Regions from separate parts of the Homo sapiens genome. Here region 1 is linked to region 2. Evidence: promoter capture Hi-C in 16 types of primary human blood cells and fetal thymus (Javierre and others, 2016). All regions are on one chromosome and are shown on one strand. The core of a region is centred on a gene start or on the middle of the fragment in contact, and the rest is flanking DNA. Distances in the headings are between cores, read along the strand shown.

Evidence for each region. Contacts are between HindIII fragments. The CHiCAGO score rates a contact against its expected background, and 5 or more counts as called.
Region 1: a fragment that was not itself captured here is called in contact with the fragment with the promoter of KDM2B in region 2 in 2 of 17 cell types (naive B cells and total B cells); the score reaches 5.4 in naive B cells.

The regions. Positions count from the first base shown.
Region 1 is chr12:121,615,259-121,618,470 of GRCh38, forward strand. No RefSeq gene overlaps it. Among named protein-coding and RNA genes, the nearest start is that of KDM2B, 36 kb to the left of the region's middle. The HindIII fragment of the contact is 3,928 bases long and covers 1-3,212 here.
Region 2 is chr12:121,579,607-121,582,654 of GRCh38, forward strand. It overlaps KDM2B (lysine demethylase 2B), which reads right to left and starts at 1,417. Exons shown (of 23, transcript NM_032590.5): 1 at 1,180-1,417. The coding sequence starts at 1,305. KDM2B-DT (KDM2B divergent transcript) reads left to right here and starts at 905. Exons shown (of 4, transcript NR_183427.1): 1 at 905-1,657. RefSeq lists silencers at 698-1,007, 1,088-1,137 and enhancers at 707-1,642, 2,578-3,048. The HindIII fragment of the contact is 12,326 bases long and covers 1-3,048 here.

The DNA.
Region 1 (3,212 bases), core at 385-2,884, 36 kb after region 2:
TTCTTCGTTTTTTTTTGTTTGTGGTTTTTTTTTTTTTTTTTAGAGAGTTTCACTCTTTCGCCCAGGCTGGAGTGCAATGGCACAATCTCAGCTGACTGCAACCTCTGCCTTCCAGTGTCAAGAGATTCTCCTGCCTCAGCCTCCCAAGTAGCTAGGATTACAACAGTCGCTTGCCTTCACACCCAGCTAATTTTTGTATTTTTAGTAGAGATCGGGTTTCACCATGTTGGCCAGGCTGGTCTCCAACTCCTGACCTCCTGATCCACCCTCCTCGGCCTCCCAAAGTGCTGGGATTACAGATGTGAGCCACCGTGCCTGGCCACAGTCTTCTTCTTTTGTTTTTTTTTGAGACGGAGTCTCGCTCTGTCACCCAGGCTGGAGTGCAGTGGCGTGATCTCGGCTCACTGCAAGTTCTGCCTTCCAGGTTCACGCCATTCTCCTGCCTCAGCCTCCCGAGTAGCTGGGACTACAAGCACCTGCCACCATGCCTGGCTAATTTTTTGTATTTTTTTCATTAGAGACGGGGGTTTCACCGTGTTAGCCAGGATGGTCTCGATCTCCTGACCTCGTGATCCGCCTGCCTCGGCCTCCCAAAGTGCTGGGATTACAGGCGTGAGCCATCGTGCCCAGCCGGCCACATTCTTCTTTTTGAGGTGGAGTTTCACTCTTGTCTGCCGGGCTGCAGTGCAATGGCGCAATCTTGGCTCACTGCAACCTCCACCTCCTGGCTACTTTTTGTATTTTCAGTAGAGATGGGGTTTCACCATGTTTGCCAGGCTGGTCTTGAACTCCTGACCTCAGGTGATCCGCCTGCCTCAGTCTCCCAAGGTGTTGAAATTACAGGCGTGAGCCACTGCGCCCAGCCCCAAATGAGGTCACATTCTGAGGTACTGAGGTTTAGGACTGCAATGTCTTTTTTGGGGGGACACAGTTTAACCTTTAAGAGTCCAACCTGATCTCATGTGTCTGATCTCTGCAGTGTGGCCTGCTTTGCTAATAGAGGATGTCAGACCGTCCAGGAAAATGATCCTGCTGACACCCACCAAGTTAAGGGATATAGTGATTCTCCAAGGCATATGTGTATTGACAAAATTTACCCCAACATTCTGTACAGCAAATTCAGTTTTGAAAAAGGAGAACTAGACTAGGCGTGGTGGCTCATGCCTGTAATCCAGCACTTTGGGAGGCTGAGGTGGGTGGATCACCTGAGGTCACGAGTTCAAGACCAGCCTGACCAACATGTAGAAACCTCGTCTCTACTAAAAATGTAAAAATTACCCGGGCGTGGTGGTGCATGCCTGTAATCCCAGCTACTCGGGAGGCTGAGGCAGGAGAATCACTTGAATCCAGGAGGTGGAGGTTGCAGTGAGCTGAGATCATGCCATTGCGCTCCAGCCTGGGCAACAAGAGCAAAACTCCGTCTCAAAAAAAAAAAAAAAAAAAGAAAGAAAGAAAAGAAAAGAAAAAGAGAACTAGGCTGGGTAGGTTAGCTCACGCCTGTAATCCCAGCATTTTGGGAGGCCATGGCAGGAGGATCGCTTGTGTCCAGGAGTTTTGAGACTGGCCTAGGCAACATATTAGATCCCATCTTTATAAATAATAAAAAATTAGCCAGGTGTGGTGGTGTGTGCATGTAGTCTCAGCTACTTGGCAGGCTGAGGTGGGAGGGTCACTTGAACCCAGGAGGTCAAGGCTGCAGTGAGCCATAATCGTGCCTCTGGACTCCAGTCTAGGCAACAGAATGAAACTTCATCTCAAAACAACAACAACAAAAAAGAAGCTGGTCACAGTGGCTCTAGCCTTTAATCCCAGCACTTTGGGAGGCTGAGGCAAGCGGATCGCTTGAGCCCAGGAGTTCAAGACCAGCCTGGGCAACGTGGCAAGACCCCCTGTCTCTACAAAAAAAAAAAAAAAAAAAAAAACACAAAAATTAGCCAGATGTGGTGATGCAGGCCTGTAGCCCTAGCTACTTGGGAGGCTGAGCTGAGAGGATCACTTGCACCCGGGAGGCAGAGGTTATAGTGGGCTGAGATTGTGCCACTGCACTCCAGTCTGGGCAAGAGACCAAGACCCCTGTGAAAAAAAAAGAAGGAAGGAAGGAAGGGAGGAAGGGAGGGAGGGAACAAGTTGAAGGTCTTACCTCTACCTGACTTTAAGACTTATTTTGAGGCCGGGCGTGGTGACTCATGTCTGTAATCTCAGCACTTTGGGAGGCTGAGGTGGGTGAATAACCTGAGGTCAGGAGTTCCAGACCAGCCTGGCCAACACGGCGAATCCCTGTTTCTACTAAAAATACAAAAATTAGCTGGATGTGGCAGCAGGCACCTGTAATCCTAGCTACTCGGGAGGCTGAAGCAGGAGAATCGCTTGAACCCGGGAGCCGAGGTTGCAGTGAGCCCAGAACGTGCCATTGCACTCCAGCCTGGGCAATAGAGAGAGACTCTGTCTTAAAAAAGAGACTTTTTTTTTTGAGACAGGGTCTTGCTCTGTCACCCAGGCTGAAGTGTAGTGGCCCCGTCTCGGCTCACTGCAACCTCCACCTCCCAGGTTCAAGCAATTCTCCTGCCTCAGCCTCCCGAGTAGCTGGGACTACAGGTGCGTGCCACCACATCCGGCTAATTTTTGTATGTTTAGTAGAGACAGGATTTCACTGCGTTGACCAGGCTGGTCTCAAACTCCTAACCTCGTGATCCGCCCGCCTCGGCCTCCCAAAGTGCTGGGATTACAGGCGTGAACCACCATGCCCGGCCGAGACTTTTTTTTTTTTAATTTTGAGGAATTTATGGGGTTTTTTTTCCCCAAGACTTATTTTATTTTTATTTATTTATTTATTAATTTATTTACTTTTTTTTTTTTTTTTGAGATGGAGTCTCACTCTGTCACCCAGGCTAGAGTGCAATGGCGCGATCTCAGCTCACTACAAGCTCTGCCTCCCGGGTTCATGCCATTCTCCTGCCTCAGCCTCCAGAGTAGCTGGGACTACAGGCGCCTGCCACCACGCCTGGCTAATTTTTTGTATTTTTAGTAGAGATGAGGTTTCACCGTGTTAGCCAGGATGGTCTCGATCTCCTGACCTTGTGATCGGCCCGCCTCGGCCTCCCAAAGTGCTGGGATTACAGGCATGAGCCACTGCGCCCGGCCAATTTATTTACTTTTGAGACGGAGTCTTACTCTGTCGCCCAGTATGGAGTGCAGTGGCGTGACCTCGGCTC
Region 2 (3,048 bases), core at 167-2,666:
CGCACCAGCAGCTGCCTCATCTCCCCACAAGCGCGCGCGCACACTCACTTCCTAAGGAGACTCCCCCACCACTCCCCGCATCCCCCTGCCTCCTCCCTCCACCGCCCAGCGCCCGGCCCCTCAGCCCCCCAGATTCCGGGCGAACCCCGAGCCCGCTCAGCCCCCCTCCACGCCTTTCCCCGATACCACCTCCCCACTTAAGTGTCTGAGACTCTAAGCCTCACAAGGGGCTGGAGGAGTAAGCAGCTTGCTTCCTTTTGCATGCAATTTATTATATTTTTTTCCCGGTCCTCTTGCAAAATACAGAAAAGGAAAGAAAAGGCAGCGAGAAACAACCAAAAAAAAAAAAAAAAAGATCTATCATATGCCAGATACAGATTTGGAAAAAAAAAAAAAAAAAAAAAGCTACACACCAATCTTCTTCCAGAGTCTTTCTCTGCCTCCATTTTTTTAGGAGAGTTCACCAATTAATTGTCAACACTCCTGCCCCCTGCATTTTGGCCGAGGGGGGAAGGAGGGAAGACCAAAGAAAACAAACCAAAAAATAAATAAATAAAGCAAGCCAGAGCCGAGATCTACAAAGTTTTGCACCAACACTTAGGCAGATCCGTTTGCAAAGTCCTAGGAAACCATTTTCAGCAGTTGTGGGGGGGGGGAGGCGTCGACGTCATAATCCCCGGAACGTAAACATTGTTGCCGATCGCGCTCGGAGCCCGCGGCCGGGCTATTTGGGGGGGCTCTCGGCCCGGGCTTGGGGGGGTGGGGGCGGCGGCCCGAGGAGGTATGGGGCGGGGAGGGAGCCCGGGAGGCACCGGGCGCCGTTAGCGCCGTGGCATCGCTGTTTTGTTGTTGGGTCACGAGTGCGCCTCTGCACGCAGGCGCCGCCGCCGCCCGGGAGTTGTGTGCAGAGCTGACTTTTGGAGGGCCGAGTTGCAGGCGGCGGGCGCATCCCGGAGATGGCGGGGCAGGGAGGGAGGGAAGGAGGAGGGGGCGGGGAGGGAGGTGCAGATTTGCACGGCTGGCCTCAGCGGGAGGCGCGGAAATGCAAGCCGAGCATGCTGGCGTGAAAGCCCCCGGGGCCTGGCACCCCCAAAAACGACCCCCCACCTCCGTTCCTGCCCTCATTGCCCAGGGCTACCCCTCTTCCTCTTCTTTCATCCACCCCTCCCCCAACATTACCTGTGTGGCCGACTCAAATTCAAAGCATTTTGTATATATAACTGTTTTCTTTTTTTGCTTTTCTGCTGCATGTCTTTTTCGTGGGGGGTGATCCTCTGCAGATCCCCCCATTTGCGGACCCGCCATGTGGAGGAGGCATTTGGGGGGCTCAGAAGGAAATTAGCTCGGCTTCCATACCTATAAGGACTGCCTAACTTTTAAACTCCCGGCACTCAAAGATGTGGACACACACACGTACAGGAAATACAGCCAGACCAGAGCCTTTGCAGTCCGCAGCTGACCGGAAGACGTTGCCTTTCATTCATTCATTCTGCCCGCCTCTGTGGACTCCTTTACTAGGCGACCAGCCCTGAAACAGAAGTTGGACATTTTTTAAAGGTTCTTGCGCTCGGCAAGGGGAGCAGATAGATGCTCAGGAGCGAAAGACGCAGAGAATTGGATCTGGCGCCTCCTAACGCAGCCCGCACAGGAGCGAAGGGTAAGCCCTTGTTGGTAGTTTATAGAAGACAAGTCGGTGGAAAGGTGCATGGTGCTCTGGGATAGGTGGGGGGAACTCTAGTGCCCTTGATGAAGCCCCTACAGGGCTTCTTAGCGGAGGTATCGGCACCCTCCGTACATACATGGGTGTCATTAGGTCCCTGTCCACTTACTAGTGTTTTTGACTACCCCAGCACTGGTCCTGGGTTGTCTTGTCCTCCCATCATGAGCAACAGTCAGGTCGACTTGGCTTGAGAAAAGCTAGCCCTAAACATTCCTCCAGCCCCAGCTGTGGCGCCCTGCTAGGCCTGATCTTGCGGGTAAAGATGCTGATAAAATGACATGGCAAGAGGGAGACGATAAAGGGACATTGTAGATAGCAGGCTTTGAGCCTGACATTTTATTTCTGCCATAACCCTGTGGGATACTTGGAGCAGGTCATTTTGCAGATAGGGAAACTGAAGCTCAGAGAAATTATGAATCTGAATGATTGCTGTGCTCCCATATGGTCCCCAGGCTATCAGACAGACCTGTGGGGAGGACGTGGCTTCCCCACCAGGAGATACGATGTCACTATCAGCATCGTATTGGCCGTCCTAAGAGACAGCTTCCCCCTCACTCACCTTAGAAGTTTCCTGTCCTATCTGACTGTAGTCTTTCCCACCCATCCTCAAAGGCTACTCTTTGAAGTTTGTTTTCATTCATGTTCACTAGCTGTAAAAATCTTTTAAGCAGGGATGAGGCTGGGAAACATCAAAATTTGTTTCCAAACTGAAATCGCCCACGTTGGCTGCTGCGTGCAATCAGTAGCCCTTCGTGTGAGTGCTGCCGGTTCTGCCTTCAGTCCGTCCAGAACCATGGACCATTTTATTTGTTCCTGTCTTTCTCACAAGAACCCTTTAAGGGAAATCGTCTTGTTCGTTCCCATTTTGCAAAGGAGGAAATTAGGACTAAGAAAAGCAAAGCCACTCACCCAGGATCACATAGCGCGTATGTGCCGCTGCCAGGGCTCACACTGGAGCCTGGCTTGGCCATCACGTGCTTTTTTTTTTTTTTTTTTTTTTTTTAGTAACTTACCAGCCTCACTACTGCCCCATAATGAAATAAACATGTTCAAAGGAGGCTGCATGGGCTGGAGAGTGACGCAAAGTGAATTAAGTGAAATAAAGCAAAAAATATATAATAGAATGCTTCATCTAATTAATTCTTTTTTCTCCCTGAGGCCCTTCTTTCTCTCCAAGTGGCCTCATAGTGGCCCCAAAAGCTGGCATCAGAAAAAGGTCCAATGGCAGCCACCTTAGTATAAAAACAGTTAAGTCCATCTATCACCTCCACGAGGAGTTCCTGGCCTGTCAGAGTGGGAAGGGGCTGGGTAGTCACCTCATTTAATCC